6 separate regions of the Homo sapiens genome follow, and all the other regions are linked to region 1. The links are contacts of gene promoters, found by promoter capture Hi-C in blood cells and fetal thymus (Javierre and others, 2016). All regions are on one chromosome and are shown on one strand. Each heading gives the region's core, a stretch centred on a gene start or on the middle of the fragment in contact. The rest is flanking DNA. Distances are from core to core; before and after follow the strand shown.

Region 1 (4,122 bases), core at 942-3,441:
GAGGCCGCGCGGTCTGGGACGCAAATGGGAGGGAGCAGCCGCTGTCGCCCTGCGGGGCCAGGGCCACTGGGTAGGCGCAGCGCGGGCCAAGAGTGGGAGGCTCAGGGCAGGGGATCCGCACTCGGGGCCATTCCTGCCGCGGCGCGCCCTGCGCTTCAGCAGTGCACAGGGTGGGGACCCCTCGAGGACAGTGGTGCGCCGACGGGTCTCTCGGCCCCTCCCTTTCCACAGGCCCCGCTGTGTGGTGAAGGAGCCAGAAGAGGCGACTTGGGTGTTGAGACCCGGGGCCAAACCGTGGAGAGTGTCTGGAGCCCACACTCCAGATTTCTGGACGCCGCAGTCAGTCCAGCAGGTTCTACCTGGAGCCGCCTCGGGGCTCAACCGGGAGGCAGCGGGGTGCAGGCGAGAGGGTTAATGCGCCCGGTTCGGTTGGTTTGAGGAGTCTCTGCTTTCAGCGACCCACAGGGCAGAGAGCCCAGGGCTCCGGCTTGATGTCCCCAACAGCTGGGGACTGGAGAGCTGGAGGGGTCGCAGACTCAGGCTAGAGTTTAAAGTGCGCCGCGCGGCGAGTCGCTGGACTCTTCTGGGTCTCACGTGGCTCCTGTGTCACATGGAGTGACAGGCCGGCGGAAGGCGCTTTAGTCGTCGCCCAGCGTTCTCCAAGGTGTAAGGAGGCAGGATCTTCCCATACTGGCGGCGCAGGGGGCCTCACGGCTGCGGACGCCCGCCCTGGATCTCTCAGCTCGGCAGATCCTTTGGGTGGAGAGGCGCTCTCCAGGGTCGCGGCGAAGGAGAGCGGCTTCTCGGCACGTCCCTCCGTATTTCTTCTAGATCAGCTCCGGCCCCACCGTCCAGGAGAGGGCCCGCCTGAGGACCTCTGTCTGTGCCGCGCGTGGTCAGCCCCGGTCCCCTCACTCCATGGCTGGCCCCTAGCCCTTCAGAGCGGACACCTCTCCTTAGGGATGCAGGGCGAGGAAGGGCGGGTGGAGCTGCGAACCCACGGGGACCTGGAGGACCTCTTGGCCCCCTGGAGAGGGGTACTATGAGAGGGATTCATGGGACACAGATTTGGGGGACTGGGTAATTTTACCCCCTTTGGCAACCATAAAAACCCTGAGCAAACGTGTCCATTCGCTATTTCGCAGAAATATACAATGCAGGCCCACACAGGCATCTCTGCGAGGCCCCCTAGTTAAGGGCGCAGCGTTCTTCGGAAGCTCTTGGTCTTGCTACCAGGGCGTCACCGGCTTTTCCGCACTGGGGACATTTCGTTTGGGCTCTGCGCAGCCGTTGCACCTAAGGCCCTGGGAGCTCCGCGTTCCTCCCCAGGCGCCCGGGACAAAGTGCCCGAGGGCTCCGCAGACGTCCAGCCCTGCCCGGGGCTCACGGCCGCCGGGGCTCTCCAACGGACCGTCGAGGGCCACGTTTTGCTGGGGTGTGAGCGACGATTCTTTTCCCGCCCTATGAGGCCCGCCACTAGCTAGGTGCCCCATGAGACGCCGTGGCGAGCACGGCTACCTGGCAGCTCGCCCGGGCAGCCCCAACTTAATTTCCTGCCCCTCGGGGCACCTTTCCCTCGAATAGCTCTCCTCGGCCCCTCCAGCCCTGCCCAAGGGGCCTGGAAATGTTCGCAGCTTCAAGAAAGGCTCTATTTAAGCACAGGATGGGGTGGGGCGGGCGGGGCCAAGATTGCCCTGGGGATTGAATTTATCTCCGCTCCCAGCGATCCCCGGCGGATAAAGCGCAAGTTTGTGCACACGGTCGACTGAGCCATTGGAAACCCAGCTCACGAACCGCAGCCAGGGAAACGGGAGTTTGCCCAGTTGTCCTTGCGGAGGGGTGTGCGGAAACGCCCGCGATGGGAACTTTCTGCAGATCATGTATGGAGGGAGCTCACAAAAAGGAGGAAGGGGAGCGCGGTGGGGAGGAGGCCGCGTGGGCGTGGAAGGTCCCAGGGTCCTGGGGGTGCCCGCCTGCTTAGGCGCAGGGAATGGCGCGGAGCTGGCTGGGGAAGGAGCCGATCACGTCCCGCAGGCTAATTGGCTTAAGAAATTTTGCAAGCGCTGGAAAAGGTCGTTGAAGGAGTTCGCTGCACGCGCACGCACACACATACACACACACACAAAATCTTAAAAAAAAAAAAAAAAAAAAAAAAAAAAGAGCGCCGAGCATGCGCACAGAGAGGATGCCATATTGGAATGAGCTGTAGTGGGAGCCGGAGGACCGGAGCGGGCGCGCGAGGGAGGCGGCGGGCGGGGAGCGAGCGGGCAAGGGCGGGCGAGCGAGCAAGCGAGCGAGGCCGGTGCCCTCCCGGGCGGCGACCGGGGCCTGGGTCCACGCCGAGGGCAGGACGAACTTCACCAGGTAGGACGCCGCGCCGGCTGCTGTCCCCGGCGCCCAGGCTGGCCGGAGAGCAGCCCTTCGGCCCGCAGGTTGAGTGCGCTGGTCAGGGGCTTTTTCCAGCCTAGGAAAAAAAAGGAAAAAAAAAAAAAGGAAGGAAGCCTGAGGGAGCTGGGGTTGGAGGTGGCGGGTGGGGGAAGGCTGGGGAGGGTGCAGGGGAGCGAAAGAGAAGGGCAGGAGAAGAAAGCGACTGCACTTGAGCGAAGCTTCAAACTCCTCTGTGCGCTCCAGGTTGTCATTTTTGCTTCCCGGGTCCCCTTCGCCTGCGTCTCCGGGCTCGGAAAAGCCGAGCCGTGCGGGAGTCCGTCCGGAGTTGCAAAGTGTCCTCCTTCCCCGGGCGCAGCCTGTCCCCTCCCGCCGCCCACCTTCCTCGTTTCTGCACTCATTTTAGCGACGCAGCCGCCGCTGCTACCTACCCCGCGCTCCCGCGTCTCCTCCGCGCTGGGGTCTCCCCTTTCTTTTGGTTTGGGTGGGAGAAAAAGATGGTGAGGACGGGGAATCGGAGACCGGCATGGGGGTAAAAATCGTGCAGACATTCGGAATCGCTCCCTTGGAAACATTTGCCTGAGCAACTGAAATAAAATTGGCAGTAGTAGTTTTGGAGCGTGCTCCAGCGAGGATGGTCTTTTTGTTCATTATTTTCTCTTTAAAGTAATATCCTGTCACTTAGGGGCTTTCCGGTTGTCTCCTCTTATTCGACCCCCTTTCAAAATTGCTGACTTGAGCTGGTTCTGGAGTTTATTTTTTAATATGCGTGCGTGGGTATGTGTATGTGTGTGTATGTTTTGCAGAAATCCGCCAAAATGCAACTGTAGGAACTGCGAGATGTATTTATTGATTTTGACCAGGGGCGGTGGGAAGGGGCTGGAGGGAGCTGGGGGATCCTGGAGGGTGGGAAGTGGCTGATTCTCGGTGGCCGGACACTCATCCAGAGCCTGATCCGTACTCGTGTTTTCTTGGAAGCGCCACAACTGCGGGGAAGGAGTCTTTAGAAACCGTGCCAGTTTCAATATGGCGGGCTAAGGTGGCTTTTAAAAACTGAAAATAAAGGTTTTGAGGTGGGAAAAAACCCAGCTGAAGTTTCCACCCCTTAGTTTCGACTCTCTTTGGCTACCCCAGGAAGCGCTTTAGCGAATTAAGTGGGGAAAAAAAGAAGGAATGGGCTGTCCGGTTTTTTTTTTCCGTGGTTAGAGTCTGTGTGTCAAGTCCATTGCTAGGGGGGAAAGGGATGGAGAAGTGCCCCTGGCCCGGACCAGGGCACCGAAACGCAACTGTCGTGTGTGCCTGTGGATTAGTGTGCAGGCCTGCGTGTGCGCAGTTTTTTTGGGTGTGTGTGTCAAAGAGAACCACCCCGAATGTGTGTGTGCGTCTTGGAACCAGACCCTGCCATGATTTGACGTGACAAACTGCGGACACGTGGTGTAAAGTACATGAGGGCAGAGGGAGTGATTTATTTTGTCTTTCTAGGAGACGAGCTAGCTCTCGCCTTGTGTGTGCTGGATCCTGCGCGGGTAGATCCCCGAGTAGGTGGGGCGAGGAGGTGCTTATTAAAAGGACTAACTGTCCCGGGTATTGGGTGCAATCGGGCTGCAGACGCCAGCCGGATTTCGTGTGTGCAGGGGGCGCGCTGCACTTAATAGTGGGCTCCTGCTTTCCTCCACGCCGCTCTGGGGTGGGAGGTGGGGGACCGGGACCGAAGCTTGGAGAAGACCAAAGTGGTGG
Region 2 (4,122 bases), core at 414-2,913, 620 kb after region 1:
TTTACTAAGACTCTTTATATATACATTTAATGATTTTTCATAAAAGCTCTACTAATTATTCTCCCAAGCCACAAGCTCACTAGTACTGAGTATTATCATAATTTAAATATTTCCCAGTTTGATTTTTAAAAGCACAGTTATCTGGTATCCAATTTTACCATAATTTGAAGCCATTTGTATTCTTCTGTGAAATATGTATTCAAGACCATTGCTCATTTTACTTTATGGGTATTAGTTCTTTTATTGATTTGGTTGATCTTGCCTACATTCCTTCCCACCTCCACCTGCCTTTTTTTTTTCTTCTTCTTCTGGTGAATAGTTATTTTGTTCTGTTCAGGTTTGCAAACTATATCTTCAACCAGCTTAAGAAACAAAGAACCTCCAGTTTCCTTGGACAACTTCTTAGGAGAGGAGGAGAGATTGTAAAGCAACAATAACAACAAATTTCTCAGCTAAGAAAGTCTCAAAGTTCCCGCTTTCTACAAGATTGTTCTTGTTTTAGAAAGGAAGACTGGATCATGTAGCAATGACTGCTGGTGACCTATTCAATGTCCACCAATATTCTTCTGTATTACCGAAACTCTGCTTCTTTTGGAGTATCAATACACTTCATTTTCCAGCTTTTGTTGCAACCAGCACAGCCATGTAACCAGTTCTAGCCATCAGGATGTGAGCAGCCCTTCTGGCAGGGCTGTCTCATAGGAGATGACAGCATGAAACTGCCATAATCATCACAGACTGCTTTGCTCTGGACTTCGTTGTGAGTGTAAGCTTGTGTGTATTAAAGCACTGGTACTAACTGTACTAAAGTACAGTTAGCTGAAACCCATCCTAACAGAGAGACCCAAAGAGTTCATGCACTCTGTTCCTAACCAAGAAAATTCATGAAGGTAGAATGTAAGGGTCTCCAGAGGAGCATGGTGCTGGCTGTTCTAATGGTTTTTGAAAAGGAAATGCAAAAAGGAAATCCCATCAAATTCTTGATAGCACAAAAAGCTTTGCTTTTGGCATAGTCAGGGCTCAGACAGAGAGTACTTAGGCTTTTAAATTAAGTGTCTGTCAGCTTTTAACATTTGGGGAGATTTCTATATTAAATATATGAACAATGACCTTAGCAAAGAATTCCAATTTTATTGCTGGTGCTGGATATAGAAAGCAAAGAGGGTGTCCTTCAGGGAAGTGACTGGGTGGGTGTCATGTGGCTCCCCTGTCACTGGCCCAATTCATCTCCCAACCTATCACTCATTTTACATTGTTCCAAAATGTTAGATGCCTAAAGAGTAAGGTCCAAATGCTACAAGCCTACTTCAGACCTCTGCACAACACTGCCCTGTCTGAATATTCTAGCCTCCCTTTCTTCTGCAGCTCACATACGCACTTAGGACACATTTGATGCCTCACTGTAAGATAGTTTCGTGTTTCTTTACTGTTGCTTCTACTGTCCTTTTAACCTGACATACTCTTATCTCAAGCATCTGTCCATTCATTCATATGTACATTTAACCAATATTTATTGAATATTTGTTAGGCATCAGGCAGGCATTAGGATAGGTGTTAGGGTTACCCCAACAAACTTGTTATGGTTCTAGTCCCTAACAAAATTCCACTTACCACCCATGCACCCAACGGCTTAGCTCAAGGCTCCCCGCCCCCCTACCCGGCCCATGAAGCCTTCCTCTGCTCTCCGCTCTTATTCCTTAAGATTTCCTGGCTATTTTTGGCTCACTGCATTTTCATATAAATCTTGTAATCACTTGAGTCAATTTACAAATACACACACATGTAATCTCCTGGGATTGCATGAGGCTGGGGATACATGTAGGAAGAGTCGACATGTTTACAAGTGAGTCTTCTGATTGACAAATGTCCTAGATCTACTTATTTACTATATCTACTTATTTAGATCTCCCTTTGAGTTCCCTCTCAGAGATGCTTTGTGGCTTTAGAACACAAATCTCATATACCTCTTTAAAATTTCTATTTAAGTATTTAATATTCCTCGATGCTGTTGCAAATCCTGCAATTGCAAGATTTTATTTTCTCTGTGTTGCAGGTCTATAGATATAGAGGTGATTTTTTTATACTGACCTTACATGCGGAGACTGCGTAAAGAGACATTAAATTTAAGTTGTTTGCAGATTCTTTTGGATTTTTCTTCATATAGAGACAGTTCATCTGTGTCTAGTAAGTTTTTTCTTCCTTTCCAATGATTCTGCCCTTTATACGTTGGCTTGCATTATTGCCCTGGCCTGGACTTCCAGGACCATGTAGGTTAGAAGTGGTAAACAGTAGGCACCCTTATTTCTTTCCACCACTTGAGGGAAAGCTTTCACTATTTTGCCTTTAATTTGCAGTTTGGGTAAGCCTCCTCTGGGCTGATCCTCTTCCGGCAACATGAACTTCCAGGGCTTTGACTGAGGCTGGTGCATCCCAGGAACACTGCCTCTCCTGGGAACTGAACTCTAACCTGGGTCTCCAAGGCATCGTCACACTGCAGAAAACTCGACCCAGCTCTTCTGATGTACTCAGCTTAGCTTTCCTATGTCCTTCCCTTGCAGCTTCAGAATTCAGCAAATGTCTTGAGGGGGAAGCTGGTCCTGTGTTGAAGGCCCTATTGTGTTGCACATCCTGGCTACCTTCCCTGAGCTCTGCTGAAACCTCTGCATCCTGCCCGCTGAGAAGGGGTTTGGGTAGAGTTTAGATGCCAAGCTTCTCGTTCTCACCCAGAACTCACAGTGAACCCACAGTGCCCCAGGATAAAAGGCTGGTGCAGATTCTCCCCTTTGCTGTCTTTCAGCCTCTCTACCTACATTGCTTCAACAGCTCCTTGGTACCTTTAAAACAGATAATTTTTGGATTTTATCTGTTTCATCTAGTTGTTCTGATTTTCAGGATTAGTCTGTCACCAATATCTCCATCTTACTCAAAAGCAGAAGTCCCATAAAAGCTTTTTCATATGTGCTTCCAAATTTATCTTTGATTTATTATACACTTCCAAATTTATTCCTCCTTGGGAGGTGGAGTATGAGGATCAAAGCAAACTCTGGAGGTTTTCTAGGGTCTCCACCTGAAGAACAATCATAAGGTTATTCCCAGAACTGAGAGAACTGCAGAAATTAAGGGCCAGTCGATGGAGTCAAGTTAACTTTGGATAGATCTGAAAGAGAGGGCAACAGGGCATTGCATCCAGGCTCTGATTGGAGCAGTTCATCTAATCTCCAAGTCTTTATTTCATCTGTCTACTGCATTAACAACTTCCCACGTCAATTGCCAAGACAAACTAAAACAATCATAAAAAACAAACTTGTCGTATATGTCTAGATGTACAAAGTTTTGCTTTGGGAAGTAATGAAGAAATATAAGACATCATGAACTCAAGACTCCTTGAGACAAGGCACGGCAATTAGATCCTCACTTATGTGGCCCTTGGACGTCCCGACTTCAACAAGCATCCTTCCATCTCTGCAAACACAGCTTCGGGACCGAAACCAGTTGGAGACCCAGGAGTGATCACTTAACTGGGACTTGAATGGAAAAACGCTCAAAGAATATCAGGCTGTGAACTGGGCATTTTCAGTGAGGACAGAATGCAAAGGAAAGAAAAGGAGAAGCTGTAAAATGCCTATTGACATTTTTCTGGGCAAGGAAGAAAAATGTGTTCACCTGCCTTCCAGGGCCCTTTTATATTGCCCTAAATTCTGCTACTTGTTCTCCTATTCAATCTTGTATCAGATTTCCTTCTCAGAAAAAAAAAAAAAAAGGCTGACATGAAGAATAATTCATATTCATAGAGTCAATTCTGCTGAAAATAATCCCTAGGGCTTTAAAGCACTGCATCCCGAATTAAAATGCTCTGGACGCTCAGGGTTTGGGCTTGTGTCTCTCCGGGGATGCCATTCATGGTTTATGCATATTAGGTTATTTTCCAAATTCTGCTGTTTTGCTCTGGAAAACAGATTTAAAAATCCAGTTGAGATACATCTGGAAGACTTTAAAAACTGGGAAAGATTCTCATCTGGATGGGATGGTTTAAGTGTGATGCTGCTTGAATTTGGAGCCAACGGCCATAAGATCTTTCCAGGCCGTTTCCAAGACTTGAATTTTATAATACTATGAATATCT
Region 3 (4,122 bases), core at 1,038-3,537, 600 kb after region 1:
TTTAGAATATGCATTTCTTAATAAAGTGAGTTTATCTCTGGAGTAGTTTAGATGTCGTATGTCATATCAAGGAGAAATAGGATTATATTACATAGAAGTGTTATTTATGTTTATATATTTACCTTATTAAAATATAAAAATACAAGTAGGGTGTTTCCTTAGATGTTGTAAGCCTTCTTTTATATTTTATTCTTTATCCTGGTTTCAATTTGCATGCTTTGAGTTCCCTTTTCAGTAACAGAATTACCCTGTTCTCGGCTGATTGATTCTAGGAATTTGCTGAATGCAGCCAAACTATGACATATTTGCATCTTTAAGGCTTGAAACGTTTTTTCAGTTTTTAAAATGAGTTTATTTTGGGGAAATGTATGATTTCTTGAACTAATGGCAAATTAAGTTAATAAAATTCATACCTGCTGTGGGCAATGATGATTATATATCAAAGGAAAAATAAATCAAAGGCTAAATTCTACACTCTGTAATTGATCACATTTCCCATTCATTTCCATAGAAATACTTTCTGTTTGGGATTATAATGTTGAGGCATAGAGCAATGATTCTCCCTTTTAAGTTGCTTCTCTCTCTGGCCTTCTACTGCTGACACTGTCTCTTTCCTCCTACTTGGTCACCGAAGTGTCAGAGTTTGCTCATCACAAATGTTGACTACTTGGCCTACACTTACAATACTGCAATATTCCTTGCCCTTAGGAAGAATGTTTGTTTGTAATTGTGTTTGCTGATGATTTGTTAACACCAATCACATTTTAAAAACAAACTTGAAAAAAAGCTGGTGCAGAATGGGACACAAAGCTGGAATTCAGGCATCTTTCCCACAAGGCCTTTCTGGCTCTATTTAGCCAAATTCTGGCTCCAATACCCAGATTCTGGCTCTATTTAGTCAATGACATAACCTCCCAGTCCAGTGACCCCTCACTCACATTATGAATTATCGTTCTTAAAGTAAGGCCAATTCAAGAGAATTTAAAAATGACGTGATCTCTGACAATATTTTTGAAACTAGGTAGATTTCACTTAGTATGCATTTTATGGAGATCATAAATCCAAGTCCACCTGAGGCTGGGTCAACCAATTAGAAATCGGGAGATGAGTTAACAAATACTTATTCTACTAGATGTATATCTAAAATGTGTATTTCATTTGAACCCAAATTAGTCTCTTGTGTAGTTTCTATTAAAAATTTGTGCTGAGACAGCTTGATTCTACAGACAATCTTAGCTCTAATCCAGAGCCCTGGAAGTTTCTTAGAATCTGAAATGAGTGATAGTAGCTTTTGTGCTATTATTTACACCATATATCATATTAGGATTTACTTAGTCGATGCTTTCATAGAATATGATATTGATGGACAGCAAAGTGCACAAAGTAATTAAGCAAACAAAAAGCAGCCCACTTAGAGGAAAAATTGCGAAGAGTAAGTTTAGTCAGAGATGCTAGGCAAACTACCAACTATAGAAAGATATTCAGCTAATTCACATCAGGGTTAAGAATATTTAGAAGAAACATTTCGGGCAAGTATGCAGTGAACAGAAGATCAGAAGAGATCAAGACTAGTTTAGAAGACATATAATCAAAAGTCACCAAAATTCAAATCAAATCTATATGATTCAATTTAACAAGCATTCACTTTTCAAATACTCTGTGCCAACACACTGTAGCAGGTGCTCTGATATTTAATATATTACCCTTGACCTCAAAGAATTTAGACCTAGAAAGGAAAGTTAGAAAAAGGCATAAGGGAATTTAAAAAACAACTCACAGTAAGATAATTGAAGAAAGTAATTGATTATTGGCCGGGTGCAGTAGCTTATGCCTGTAATCCCAGCACTTTGGGAGGCCCAGGTGGGAGGATTGCTTGAGTCCAGAAGTTTGAGAACAGCCTTGGCAATATGGTGAAACCCCATCTTTACCAAAAATACAAAAAATGCCAGGCATGGTCGTATGCACCTGTAGTTCCAGCTACTCGGGAGGCGGAAGAGGGAGGATCGCTTGATTCCAGAATGTTGAGGCTGCAGTGAGCCAACATCACACCACTGTGCTACATAACCTGGGAGACAGAGCAAGACCTTGTCTCAACAACAACAACAAAAAACAAAAACAAAAAAAAAAGAAGAAGAAGGAAGAAAGAAAGAAAAGAAAAGAAAAGAAAAAAAGTTGATTATTAAATTAGATGCCTGGGTTTGAATTCCACCAAATCACTTATTTCTTTGTCTGTTTCCTCAATGACATATGAGGACAATAAGACCATGTAGACCAGTAGACCATTTAGAAATGTTGGGTGTAAAAGTACTTTTTAATGTTTCTTCTCTCCCTGGGAATAAACTCATGGGCAGGAACTGAGGCCCTCAGGGATTTAACAACTGGACAAATAAACATGAAAAGGGCCATAGAGTTTAACTCCCAGTGCTGTTGTGAGGAAAAAGAACCCCTTAAGAAGACAGAGTTCCATGTTTCTGTGACAGGTGGTGAGTGGGAGAATCCTGGTGGCATGCGACAGGACGAGAGGAGGACATGCGGGAACTTTGGGTGAAGTGCAGAGTACATCGAAGGAATGAGGGAAAGATTGGAAAGGAAATCTGTCCTTAATTAGGTCATATGGAACCTTTGTTTTCAAGTAGGACAGTCATATTCAGAGCTGTTTGAAAAAGAAAAAAATCTGGAAATAATGTGTAAGTGCGCTGAGAGGCTGGTGATACAGAAAACAGAAAGAGTATCAGAAAGCCTTTGTCTATAGGGAAACAACATGTCCCTGAGTATCTAAGGTGGAAATGGTAGCGGGAATTACCAGGAAGGAAAGATGTGGAGAACAGGGCTAAATTTTCCTTGGATTTCATGGAAGCCCACCCTTGTGATAATGACCATGGTGGCTCATATTTGTACCACGGTAGAGACTGTCTTCTGAATAGCCTTGCTGGCTAGGGTGAGTCTATCCTGAGTAGAGGTTTGAGTCATCAGAGCTCTTCACAAAGATGAATCTGGCAGCAGTGTGGACATGGATTATGAAGAAACTGAACTCAGAAGAAGTGGGAGGTGCTGGGAATAGCTCAGGTGGTAGACATGATTTAGCAAAACTGAACTAAAATGTGTGGGTGGTGGGGCAAAGACATAAAACATGGTCGTGGCACATTTCTCCACACCATTTTTATTTTTACCCTGAGGCAGGAGAACCCTAACTGAGCCTTAAGTCCATGTCACTCACACCGCCTGCTGCACTCTTTGTCCAGGTAAGAGGTAACAGCCCAAACTGATGTGTTGGCAGTGGTTGTTGAAAAGATGAATGTGTTCCTGGCTTATAGAACATAGTCATTCATTGAATGTGGAAATCAGAATGGTGAATAGTCAAAGATGACACCAGGTTTTACAGCTTGAATGATTGAAAGAACGTTAGTTCCATTACATAAAATCAAGCAGAGAGTGGGATTTCGGTTTTGGACAGATTGAGTTGGAGGTAATGGCAGATGGACACCTAGGTAGAGAAATTCAACAGAAAGCTGGAAGTGTTGGAGTTTTAGGGAAGGAGCAGAGCTGAGTATAAAGACTTAGAAGACATACCATTAAATCTGTAGTCGAAGCCAGAGGAGCGATTAATTTCCTGAATTAATAAAGCAGTTCCTACGATGGCAGATGAAGCAACAGTATTCATCACTTCATCCTGGTTCCCACAGTCACATCGAGAGCAGATACAGCTCTCAGAGTGGAAAGAACTTTGCCTGGTTTCTTCGTATTCAGATGTAAAGGGAGAAGAGACTATGATTTAGTTGATTTAATCAGCTTAGTCCACCAGACCACATAATTAAGCCCTCTCTACCACACTTCTAGTCTCATCTGCTTTGTCCCTAAATTACTCAATTGGTATAGTGACAATGATTAAGTATCCAACTACACCACTGTGTATGGGATACAATCATTATAAATCTTAAAGGAATTGTCCAAAGAACTTAACCTGATATGATGTTCTAATAGCATGTAAAGTGAAGCTGAGTTATCAGAGGTTTATTTTATGAAGAGTTTTCTGGGGGAGGAGCCAAGATGGCCAAATAGGTACAGCTCCGGTCTACAGCTCCCAGCATGAGCGACGCAGAAGATGGGTGATTTCTGCATTTC
Region 4 (4,122 bases), core at 469-2,968, 560 kb after region 1:
CTCCTGCCTCAGCCTCCTGAGTAGCTGGGATTACAGGCGTACATCATCTCACCCAGCTAAGTTTTGTATTTTTAGTAGAGACGGGGTTTCCCCGTGTTGGCCAGGCTGGTCTCAAATGCCTGACCTCAGGTCATGTGCCTACCTCGGCCTTCCAAAGTGCTGGGATTGCAGGCATGAGCCACTGTGCCCGGCCTTTGGAGCTATTTCAAAGTTCTCTTGGATAATGGAAATAGAAAAAACAACAACAACAAAGTAGGATTTTATTCATTCATTTCATCCTACATATATTTACTAAACAGTGTGCCATGCTTTTTCCCTCCCTGTTGGGACATTTTCTGAGAGGTATACTGTCACTTACTGTGTGACTTCAGGTAAGCCATTTGGCCAACGATGAGCTTCACTTCCTGATATTGAAAATGGGGATAATAATAATATGCTCCACCTACTCAATCAGGATTTTGAAGGTTTAATAATGTTAGCAAATACAAAGGCAGCACATTAATTGCAAAACACTGTCATTTTTATGACTATTATCTTTACTATTATATTATCAATTTATTGTATTTTCTCAGATCTTTCAATGTGTGAGGCTGAAACTGCATTTATCAAAACACACTCGGCCTTCCCAGGATCTCCCTAATCTTCCAACAGTATCCCAAGCTTCTTCCTCTCTTCTCTGCAGAGCCAGTCCCAGCTCAACAACCATGAGCTAACGTCCTAAATCTTCTCGCAGAGGATAGTCCAGTAGATTCCATGACTTGCATTAAACTCATTTCCCTTTTTATTTTCCAAACTTGTGAATTTTCTCTTTTTAATAGTTTTACCCTTAGAGTCTTTAAAATTTATATTATTTTCCACGTCATCCCCGTTCTCTGCCCATTCCCACCTTACCATATAACTGACCTGTCGAAGTGGCCTGAGTTCCCTTCAGCATCTCCATACTGCATGGACTTTTCAGGGCAACAGTAGCATGAGATACTCACGAGCAACAAAACGGCTACAGTTTGATATTTTGAGTGCATTCAGAATAACCAAGAATGCATTCAAACCCTACTGCCATATAAAAGGAGAATCCCTTTTCACCTACAAGGAAAGGGATTCCCCTTTTAGATGACAGTAGGGTTTGAGGTGAGTGATAACAGGATATAGCATGGTTAGTAAGCGAAATTATCCCAATAAACATTAGTCTGCTTATCTTCCGTGCATCACATTTATTATTTTATTTTTGTGTGTGTACATTTTTGTACCCAGCAAGATCTTAGTGTTATGGTTGAATTTTGTAGTTTGTAGACACTCCATGTCTCAAAAAAAAAAAAAAAAATATATATATATATATATATATATATATTTGAGATGGAGTCTCGCTCTGTGGCCCAGGCTGAGTGCAGTGAGGCTGTCTCAGCTCACTGCAACCTCCACCTCCCGGGATCAAGGAATTCTCCTGCCTCAGCCTCCTGAGTAGCTGGGAATACAGGAACACACCACCACACCTGACAAATTTTGTATTTTTAGTAGAGACGGGATTTCACCATGTTGGCCAGGTTGATCTCAAACTCCTGACATTAAGTGATCTGCCCACCTTGGCCCCCAAAGTGCTCTGATTACAGCGTGAGCCACCGTCCCCAGCCCCTGTATGTTTTTCTGTCTCACCCTGTGTGTCCCTTCTCCTCTGGTGAATATTAGGTTTTATTCTTTGCATTTTCACCAGAATAAAAGTAAAAGAGTTACTGTGCTTCTCCCAGACTGCCAATCTATTTATTTGCGTCTTACTTTCCTCAAAAGGGAGTTGGTAAGTGATTTTTACAAAAAGGGGCTCATTTATATTTTATATGCATGGTAGATAAAATAAAGATAAAAGAGAAAACAGAACTCACATGGAAAGAGAGGGGGAAGAGGAAGATTAGGGGAGAACATTACTAAAAATGAGCACGAAATTGTCTGAATTTCTTGTTACCCAGTATAATAGAGAAATAAGATAATGCTCTATGCAGTTTGTGTGATAAAAGAAACCATATTGACTTGCTATAAGAGACAATTTTATATTCTATCAAGAAATCCTGTAGACTCTTATTAGGGACATAACATAAACCATGTCCTCAGAACTATTTTCCCAGAAAACATATGCTTTGTAAATTATGTTTATTATCTTACCGGAAGATTTTAAAAATAATTTCATAGAACAAAGAGAGAGTGGAAATGAACCATATTGTTTTGGGGAATGGGACTATCTTAAAATTTTTCTTCCTTTTGCTTTTCTGTATTTTTCCAATTTGTCTATAATGAGTATGAATTACTCATATACGGAAAAAATAAACTTTACTTAAAAATAATAAATAACTGCACTTCACGAAGGTTTTTCTTATACCAGCCTTTGGTAAGAGCTGAGAGCATGGTCCTGAATCTTTGTTCAGGGAAAGGGCTTCTATGAGGACCAAATCATTTTAAACCAAGGAGTTTACATTCTCATGCTCTGCTTGACACAAGTATCTAATGACAAAGTTCAACTTGTTCCTTGGACTGTCTCAACTACCATTTATCTCAACATTTTTGGACATGAGTTAAGTAGCTGTCAATCGGAAGTTTAACTCTCAACTTACTACCAAAAAGCTGAGATTCTTTCTTAGAAGAAAAGGTGATCAAAAAATGCTAAACCTTAGAGAGTCAAGAAGCAATATCAACATGATGCCATGAAATCTAAGAGCTGCTGATTTATGGGATTTTTGGAAAGAGGCTGCTCCATCTTCACATAACAGTAGCAGCATGGAAGGAAGCTTGCTTCAGGGAGGGAGAAATTTTTTTTTTTTAATTAAAGGAAGGTTTGAATTGACCCCAAGCCTGGGTGAGTACTCAGTTGAGTCAGCATAGTTCTGCACCAAGAAGCTTGGAAAAGACTTCTTTGGTCTGTGCAGCTTAAAGGACAACATGCATTTTAAATCAAGTATGTAACTACTTGTTAATAATCTTGGTAAATTTTTATACTTTCCAAAATTAAACATTTGATTTTTCTCTGAGTTAGTATTTTAGTTTTTTTACTTTCGAAATGAAGATGAATGTGTTTGGAATAAGAAATATGTTTTCTGGAGCTATTTCAAAGTTCTCTTGGATAATAGAAAACAACAACAACAACAAAGTGGGATTTTATTCGCTTATTTTACCCTGCAAATTTTTACTGAACAGTGTGCCATACTTTTTTCCTAGGCTACAAACCTGTACAGCATGTGATTCTACTGAATATACGGGCAATTGTTAACACAATGGTAGGTATTTGTGTATCTAAACATACCTAAACATCGAAAAGTAGAGTAGAGGCCCAGTGTGGTGGCTTATGCCTGGAATGCCAGCACTGCGGGAGGCCAAAGTGAGAGAATGGCTTGAAACCAGGTGTTTGAGACCAGGCTGGGCAAGATAGCAAGACCCTATCTCTATAAATTTTTTAAAAAAATATTAGCCAGGTGCAGTGGCTTGGGCCTTTATTTCTAGCTACTCAGGAGGCTGAGGCAGGAGGATCACTTAAGCCCAGGGGCCCATGATTGCACACTGCATTCCAGCCTGAATGACAGCCTGCAGCTTACTTTTTTTTTTAATAACAGTCTGTTTCAAAGAGCAGAAGTTTTTAATTTTGATGAAGTCCAGTTAATCAATTGCTTCTTTTATGATTTTTTCTTTTTTCGGTGGCAAATTTCTGTTTTATTTTGTCTGGAAATAGGTATAGCTCTCATTCCTAAAAATATTCTCACTGAGGATATAAATCTGGTTGACAGTTATCATGTTCTTTCAGCATATTATGCCATTGCCTTCCAACTCTCAGTGCTGCTGTTGAGAAATCAGATGACACGCTAAATGTCTAAAAATGATCAGCAGAATTTTTCTTTTGTGTCTTAAGATTTATTTGCCAAGGTCTCAATAATTTTCTTCTGTATTTTCTTCTAGAGGTTTTATAGTTGTAGGTCTTATATTTAGGTGATCTGTTTCAAGTTAATTTTATATAGTGTAAATTTCACTTTTTTCATATAAATTTTATTTTTGGCATATGGATGAACAATTGTTCTGGTATAATTTGTTGAAATGGCTATCTTTTGCCCATTAAATGGCACCATTGTCAAAAAATAACTGACCATGTAT
Region 5 (4,122 bases), core at 736-3,235, 530 kb after region 1:
GAGGCCAGGACCCAACTGTCTCTTCTAAACTCGTGAACTTTTTTTTTTTTTTTGAGATGGAGTCTCACTCTGTTGCCCAGGCTGGAGTGCACTGGCGCAATCTCGGCTCACTGCTAGCTCCACCTCCCGGGTTCACGCCATTCTCCTGCCTCAGCCTCCTGAGTAGCTGGGACTACAGGAGCCTGCCACCATGCCTGGCTAATTTTTTTTTTTTTTGGTGGGGGGGTATTTTTTAGCCAGGATGGTCTCGATCTCCTGACCTTGTGATCTGCCTGCCTCAGCCTCCCAAAATGCTGGGATTACAGGCATGAGCCACCGCACCTGGCCAAAACTCATGAACTCTTAAAGCAACCATGTGTTAATGAGGCCAGTATGAGATGGGAGTAGGCACTTCATCTTCATCTCATCAAATAAGCAACACATCATTGACTCCATAAGATCTGCAGCTTGATTGAAGCTTCTATGGCAGTGACCCAGATATTCTGGTTCATAAAAATACTAAATCCTTTAATGAAACACACAGAATTAAGTTAATATGATTTATGTCACCCGTCACCCAGGGGGCTGATGCTTCATAGTGATCTTGATTAAAGGGAGATTATGAAATACATGCAACCTCCCTCATTTGCATTTAGTTCAAAGAAAATGGCCCAAATGGAACTAAATAGGCATTTGAGCACAAGGAAAAGATTTTTTTTTTTAAATTAGGCATGAAAATGAAACAACGTGCCAATAATTTGCACAGCATTATTTTTGGACTAGAAAGTGAATTAGGCATGAAAAAAGTTCCAAACTGATTATGTTAATTATGTTTCATCTGAACAAGGAAATTTAATAATCTCCATCCCCCAATATACATCAATCTCAAATTTGGTACTTTAAGCTATTTCCATCTTAGAATGTTGAGTGGTGCATATTTTAAACACATGTGGTTTCTTTTTTGATTCGAAGGAAGAAAAAAGTTAGAAACTAGTATGTAATACTCTGTGACATTTGTTTCATTATCTTCATATTACAGGTAAAAATATTGAAGCTCAGTGGGTCCAATCTTAATAGTAGGAAGAAGTAAAGCAGAAATTTAAATTCACGCCTATCTGTTTCCATAGCTCATTATTTTCTACCGCATCATGTTGCCTTCTATTCTTTCCTTTATATCTGGAGCAAAGACTATTTCGCATGACTAATATACCCGTCAAATCCAGAAATGGTACCTGTAACAGAAAACACTCATCTAGCTAATACTGTGTACATCACTTCCTTGGACATGATTATAGGTTTACTATTATCTCTTTCTATAAAACAGTGGTATCTGCTTCCCTTGGACTGAACTAGGCATTGTTTTCACGTGATTTCATAATTTCATATGATCAATGAGAGCCAGCATTGGTGAGTATGTGAAAATTACAGTGGGCTGGATGCAGTGGCTCATTCCTGTAATCCCAGCACTTTGGAATGTTGAAGCGGGAGGATCACTTGAGCCCAGGAGTTTGGGACCAACCTAGGAAACATAATGAGATCTTGTATCTACAAAACATAAAAATTTAGCCCGTGTGTGGCAGGCAGGCATCTGTGGTCCCAGCTACTCAGGAGGCTGAGGCAGGAGGATGGCTTAAGCCCAGGAGGTCAAGGCTGCAGTGAGCCATGATCACGCCACTGCATTCCAGCAACAAAGCAAGAACCTGTCTCAAAAAACAAAAAATACAGTACATTAGTTGACAATTGCTGACATGAACAGGTGCCTGGCTGTTGGCAAAAAACTGACAGGTCTCTGTGCATTTATTTACCTAACCACATTTAAGATGTATGCAAAACAGCTGATGTAAGAACAAAGAAATGTTAAGAGAAAATGCTAAGAAAATAGTAGAGCAAAGCTCAAACAGATAACTAGATCAAAATGAGATGCTATCATGAGGAAGAGGAATCAACACTGTAGAAGAAAGAGAAGAATGATTGGTTGTAAGAACAAATCATAAAAAGGTTGAAGGGGCCACTAGTCAACAAACTGTAATCACAATGGAACAGCAAATCATAAGAAATAAAACGGACTTGCTATGAAATTAGGTATTATTCTCATACTATGCCTACCTCTTATTCCAGCTGCTACAAATATGTTTTTTTCTGTTGAGAAAAAAACCAGTTTCCTCAAAATAAATGTAATGCTTTTCAATGATTATCATCTTTCAGGGACAGACATTTGTCACAATCATCTTGTATCTTCCAAACCTCTATTTATTTACAAACATTTATGTATGTCCTTTCAGCAGCTTAGTAATTGGACTTGTTAAAGTATTTTATCTAGGAAAGATAATATTGCCAATTGTGTGTGTAATGAATAAATACACAAATGTTAATATCACATTAATGATAATTAAGCTCTGCTGTAGTGATGCGTGTGGTGATGAACTCTGCTAGTAATGTAATGAATTCATTCTCAAAGCACAATGTTCCTGACAGCAATTCACAGCTGAGATCTGGATGGTTCAGTGCAGTATCCCTGGAGTCGAGATTGGTGTTTGGCACAAAGAAGGTGCTCAGTGATTGTTTGTTGAATGAATGAAGAAATAAGAAAAAAAGAGAAGGGACAAAGTCTAACATTGTAACCTACAATTTTAGAAGAAAAGAGAGCAGGAACACAAACCAGCTTCAGTATCAATATGCATTTTTACTACTTGGACAATCAAACAACTGCTAACTTCAAGAGCAGGATAAGTGCTGAGAACCTTAGAGAAGCCCACCTGGGGAGACCACTGTGTACACACTAATTTCAATGCTAGAAGAAGAACCTTGGTAACCGGTGGAGCGCCTATCCTAGATGCAAAGGATTGCATCTCAACAGTTTGCTCGTAATTCTTCCAAGGTTTGTCAAAACTGCAAATAGCTTTACACAGAATGATATTTTGGTAATAATCACTGGAAAAATGAGTATGAGATATAAATCAATAATATGTACAGCTTACAAATGTACCCAAATTAAAGATCTTTTATAGCAATGAAATCTAGGTCCAATAATGTAATAGCAGACACTTCAAATGAAAGGGTTTTACCAAGAAAAGAGGAGCTGCTTTAAATGATTTAATAGCAATCTCAAAAGGCTTCTGAAATTTCAATATGAAATTAATGTTAACCGATATTTTACTACACACCTACAAACAGATGCTAATGGATAAATATTGTGTTTCATTTATTTTATTTTATTTATTTAGTTTTCCAAGACAGAGTCACTCTGTTGCCCAGGCTGGAGTGCAATGGCTTGATCTTGGCTCACTGCAACCTCCGCCTCCCAGGTTCAAGCAATTCTCCTGCCTCAGCCTCCCAAGTAGCTGGGATTACAGGCGTACACCACCAGGTCCAGCTAATTTTTGTGTTTTTAGTAGAGACAGGGTTTTGCCATGTTGGCCAGGCTGGTCTCAAACTCCTGGCCTCGTGATCCACCTGCCTCAGCCTCCCAAAGTGCTGGGATTACAGGCTTGAGCCCCCACGCCCAGCCTATTCAGTAAATTCTTTCAAGCTTTATAGACCTATCTGGGCTGGGTTTGTCAACATCTTGTTCTTCTAATCAGCAGTATATTCATGAGAACGAGAACTCAGCATCTTTTTTACTCCACTGGGGTGGCTATTTTAAAGTGAGAGTCTTTCAATCTACTCTAAGGGAAGAAGGATTCCACAAAGGTGTCTTTAAAACATACTATTTCCCTTATCAAAAGAGACAGGAAAAGTCCTCCCTCTCCTCTCTAAAGTTGTTCTGGGCTGCCTCAACATGTCAACTTGGTCTCTACAACAGCACCCTGTGCGTGATGGAAACTTTGATTGGCAGAAAGGAGCTGTAAGTGCTGAAGATTAATCAAAATAAGACTTTTCTGCAGGGAATGCTGGTTTGTAATAAAACATTCGGCGTGTTGCCTAGCATTTCGACGATGAGCTGCACAACATGAAAGGGTTTTTTGTTTTTTTTTTTAATTAAAATGAGTAAACCCTACAAAGCACACAATGTCTAAAAATCTCCATGTGGTAAAAGACACATGCTCAAACCAGTGAGGGACTCAGAAACTGTGGGTCCTCTTTTGGACAGAGCCCTGACTTCAGGTGAATTGATTTTTCTCTGCAGTGGTATAATGGTGGGCA
Region 6 (4,122 bases), core at 542-3,041, 510 kb after region 1:
TTGCTCTCTGTGGAAATTGAGAATGGTTCGGAAACAATCTATTTATAATAATATTTCAGATTCTTAATGATAGCTATTAAATTTCTCTTCAACTTTCTTCCCACCAAGGTAATTAACCGAATTCTTTTAACCTTTCCTTCTAAGACCTCACGTGGCTGTTAGCAGCCATGCGTCATTTACACATCAATTCTCAGTTCTAGTGCTCAAATTATTTCAAGGATACTTGCTGGGTATTTGGCCATGAGGCATTTGAAAAGGTCTCAAGGAATTCCAACAAGAGTATTTTATTGCGGTGAATGTTTAAGTGCTGTTATCCACCGCGTGCTGAGCTCTGCCAAGGACCACCTTATACCAGCTGAAGGTGTCAGGCTCTTATATTTTATGGTAGATAGTTGTTCCCTTCATGGAGTTTAAAGTATCGTGGAGGAGTGTACGTTCCCAGGAAATGAAATCATTTCGCCAAATTCACTTGACTGTCATCATTAATGTTGGTTGCTGTCCCTGCAGCAGCTTTCTTTCAAAGTTGATTTATCAAGAAGAGTCCATAGGTTGAGAAAAGGCATAAAATAATTCATATCATGAGGGCCTGAAGTAGTAGGAAGTCAGATGGCAATGAAGGAAGCCAAAAAGGGCTCCCCACCTGGGTCTAGTATCTGTCCATGACAGAGACTAAAGTCCAAGCCTCTGTCACACCCCAGTGCTTACCTTAATAATGTTCCACACAGCACCTCGCCTCTCAGGCTACCCTTTACTTTACCTTTTAAGAACAATAATTGCTATAACAACATACACTTCTAATTTTGTCTTTACAAAAACATTACGTGTGCATTTGAAATAAAGGGAAACATGCAAATAAACTGGAGAAAGAGAAAGAAAACCTCATCACAGTCCTATCATCTAGGTAAAACTACCAATAATAGCTCCTGGCATTTCCTGGCCTTTTTATTGCATTTGAACAAAAGTAAGAGTGTATGATACAGTTTTATAAATGTGTCTTTTAAACATTTAATCAGATATCATGAATGTATTTTGATATCAACAGATATAATTTCCCATCCTTTTTAGTGACTGCATGACACTTTATTGCATGAATATAATTTACTTAACCAAGCTCCTATTTTGGGATAGTTTATTTTCAATACTTTCAATGATAACATTTAGACAAGCACTCTCATAGCTAAGCCTTTGTACATTTTAATTGTTTACTTAGAATTTAGTCCTAGGAAGGAATGAAAAAAAAATTATTAAACAGAATACATCCATTGTTAAGGATTTGGCTAAGTGTTGCACCCTTCTCTAATAGAAGGTTTTCACTCATTCATTTTCCTACCTGATGTGTATGAAAGCATCCTGTCCTCACGTCCTCACATCTTAAATTTTTTGTCAGGTTGATAGTTGCAAAATGATATACTATTTTTGTTTTTTAAAATCAATTTGATGAAATTATTATGTACATACAGTATAAAAAATACACTCACTTTACAGGTATGTTCCGCAAGAGTTAACAAACGTACACGCAATGTAACCACGAGCCAATAAAGATATAGAATATTTTTGTCCTTCTAAAAAGTTACCCCATGTCGTTTTGTCCTAGTCCCAGACAATCACTAATTTGTTTGCTGTCACTATAGAGGCCTTTTGATAATTCTTTACTTTTATATATACAGAGTCATACAACATGTACTCTTTTGAGTCTGTATTCATTTACTCTGCATAACATTTTTGACACACATCCATGTTGAGAGCATCAGTAGTTATTTCTTTTTATTACTGGATAATATTGCATTACACAGATATACGCAATTTGCCTACCACTCATTTGCAAATGGACATTTAGGTTGTTCTGAGTTTTAGCCTTAAAAGTAAGTTGCAACGAACATCTGTATACAAGTGATTTTTTGTGGACATGTGTTTTTATTTCCCTTAGATAAATACCTAGGAAAGGAATTATTGAATTGTGCAGTAAATGCATGTTTAATTTCACAAGAAGATGCCAAAGTCGTAACAGTTTATACATCCAAAGCAATCTATGAGCGGTCCAGTTGTTCCATATCTTTGTCAACACTTGCTATCATCAGCCTTTTAAGTTCTAGCCCACCCAGTGGGTGTGTAGTCGTATCTCAATGTGATTCAAATTTGCATTTGCTGATGGCTAGTGATATTGGGCATCTTTTCACGCACTTACTGGCCATTCATATGTCTTCTTTCATGAAGTGCCAGTTCAAATCCTGCCCACTTTTTAACTGGATTATCATTGAGTTAGTGGAATCCTTTATAAATAGTGGATGTAAATCCCTTGTCAGATGTATATTGCTAATATTTTCTTCTAGTCTGTGGCTTGCCTTGTCATTTTGTTGATGGTATCTATGATATCTTCCAAAGACCAGAAGGTTTTAATTTTGATGGAGTCCAAAGTATTATTTTTTTTCTATTATAGTTCTTGCTCTTTTTGTGTTTTGAGAAATCTTTGTCTATTACAAGGTTGTAAATGTGATCACTTACATTTTCTCTTTGAAGTTTTCTAGTATTAGCCAATACATTATCAACTGTGATTCATTTTGAAATAACTTTGTGAATGGTGTGAAGTATGAGTTGAAATTCATTTTCATTTTTTTTTGTTTTAGCACCACTTATTAAAGGTTATCCTTCCCCTATTACATTAGCTTGGTTTCTTAGACAGAAAAGCCAACTAACTATATATGTATGGTTTTATTTCTGGAGTCTGTTTTTAGTTCCAAAATAACATGCCCATTATTAAGTTAATATCACATTTTCTTAATTACCGTATTTTTTGGTACTTCTTGAAGTCAGGTAATATGAGTCCTCCAACATTACTCTCCTTTTTCAAAATTATTTTGGGTATTCTACATTCTTTGCATTTGCATTTTAGAATTAGTTTGTCGTTTTTAAGGGAAGCCTGTAAGAAATTCATTAAGATGGCTTTGAATATATAGATCAATTTAGAGATAACTGATATTTTAATAATACTGAGTCTTTCAATCCATGAGGATTGATGTGGTTTGGCGCTGTGTCCCCACCCAAATCTTATCTCAAATTGTAATCCCCACACGTGGAGGGAGAGACCTGGTGGGAGGTGATTGGATCATGGGGGCGGTTTCTCCTATGCTATTCTCATGATAGTGAGTGAGTTCTCACAGGATCTGATGGTTTTATAAATGGGATTTTCTCCTGTGCTATCTGTCTTTCTCTCCTGCCACCATGTAAGAGGTGCCTGCTTCCCCTAAGCCTTCTGCCTTGATTTTAAGTTTCCTGAAGCCTCCCAGCCGTGTGGAACTGTGAGTTAATTAAGCCTTTTCCCTTATAAATCACCCAGTCTCAGGTGTTTCTTTATAGCAGTGTGAAAATGGACTAATACGGAGATGGTTTATTTCTTTAATTTATTTCAGCAACGTTTTTTGGTTTTCAGTATTTAGGTTTTATACATATTTTATTAAATAATTTTAATATTTTTATGCTATTGTAAATGGTATTAGTTTTTAAAATTTCTTTTTTGAATTGTCCATTGCTAGTGTTTTGAAATATAGTTAAATTTTGTGTATTGACCTTGCATTTTGTAAGCTTTCTCAATGTACTTATTATTTTTGTAGCTAATTTTTAATTTATTTTTATTCTGTGTTTTTTTTTTGAGATGGAGTCTCCCTCTTTCACCCAGGCTGGAGTGCAATGGCATGATCTCAGCTCACTGCAACTTCTGCCTCCCAGGTTCAAGTGATTCTCCTGCCCCAGCCTCTCGATTAGCTGGGATTACAGGTGCGTGCCTCCATGCCCAGCTAATTTTTGTATTTTTAGTAGAGACGGGGTTTCACCATGTTGCCCAGGCTGGTCTTGAACTCCTGACCTCAAGTGATCCACCCGCCTCAGCCTTGTAGCTATTTTTATAGATTTCTTAGGATTATCTACATATGCAGTCATATAATCTGCAAATGAAGACAGCTTTCTTTCAAATCTGTGTACATTTTAATTCTTTTTTAACCTTATTGGGCAAAACCTCTAGCACAGTGTTGAATAGGAGTGGTAAGAGAAGATGTCTTTTCCTTGCTTCTGATCCCAGGGAGGAAGCATTCAGTCTTTAACAAGTTGTTAGTTGTAGGTTTTTCATAG

What was found. Contacts are between HindIII fragments. The CHiCAGO score rates a contact against its expected background, and 5 or more counts as called.
Region 2: a contact is called between a fragment that was not itself captured here and the fragment with the promoter of SFMBT2 in region 1, in 4 of 17 cell types (M2 macrophages, M0 macrophages, M1 macrophages and 1 more). The highest score is 10.5, in M2 macrophages.
Region 3: a contact is called between a fragment that was not itself captured here and the fragment with the promoter of SFMBT2 in region 1, in 1 of 17 cell types (M2 macrophages). The highest score is 8.0, in M2 macrophages.
Region 4: a contact is called between a fragment that was not itself captured here and the fragment with the promoter of SFMBT2 in region 1, in 5 of 17 cell types (erythroblasts, M2 macrophages, M0 macrophages and 2 more). The highest score is 14.1, in erythroblasts.
Region 5: a fragment that was not itself captured here is called in contact with the fragment with the promoter of SFMBT2 in region 1 in 1 of 17 cell types (M2 macrophages); the score reaches 6.3 in M2 macrophages.
Region 6: a contact is called between a fragment that was not itself captured here and the fragment with the promoter of SFMBT2 in region 1, in 4 of 17 cell types (erythroblasts, megakaryocytes, total CD8 T cells and 1 more). The highest score is 8.8, in erythroblasts.

Annotation. Positions count from the first base shown.
Region 1 is chr10:7,409,103-7,413,224 of GRCh38, reverse strand. It overlaps SFMBT2 (Scm like with four mbt domains 2), which reads left to right and starts at 2,191. Exons shown (of 21, transcript NM_001387889.1): 1 at 2,191-2,364. RefSeq lists enhancers at 102-1,021, 1,022-1,942 and a silencer at 2,178-2,317. The HindIII fragment of the contact is 4,872 bases long and covers 1-2,608 here.
Region 2 is chr10:6,788,290-6,792,411 of GRCh38, reverse strand. The region is part of intron 2 of LINC00707 (long intergenic non-protein coding RNA 707); the gene reads right to left. Among named protein-coding and RNA genes, the nearest start is that of LINC00707, 11 kb to the right of the region's middle. The HindIII fragment of the contact is 1,330 bases long and covers 999-2,328 here.
Region 3 is chr10:6,810,212-6,814,333 of GRCh38, reverse strand. All of the region lies in intron 2 of LINC00707 (long intergenic non-protein coding RNA 707), which reads right to left. Among named protein-coding and RNA genes, the nearest start is that of LINC00707, 33 kb to the right of the region's middle. The HindIII fragment of the contact is 7,286 bases long and covers 1-4,122 here.
Region 4 is chr10:6,849,926-6,854,047 of GRCh38, reverse strand. All of the region lies in intron 3 of LOC105376387 (a long non-coding RNA gene), which reads left to right. Among named protein-coding and RNA genes, the nearest start is that of LINC00707, 72 kb to the right of the region's middle. The HindIII fragment of the contact is 2,111 bases long and covers 663-2,773 here.
Region 5 is chr10:6,878,586-6,882,707 of GRCh38, reverse strand. The region is part of intron 3 of LOC105376387 (a long non-coding RNA gene); the gene reads left to right. Among named protein-coding and RNA genes, the nearest start is that of LINC00707, 100 kb to the right of the region's middle. The HindIII fragment of the contact is 3,051 bases long and covers 460-3,510 here.
Region 6 is chr10:6,896,047-6,900,168 of GRCh38, reverse strand. The region is part of intron 3 of LOC105376387 (a long non-coding RNA gene); the gene reads left to right. Among named protein-coding and RNA genes, the nearest start is that of LINC00707, 120 kb to the right of the region's middle. The HindIII fragment of the contact is 3,581 bases long and covers 1-3,581 here.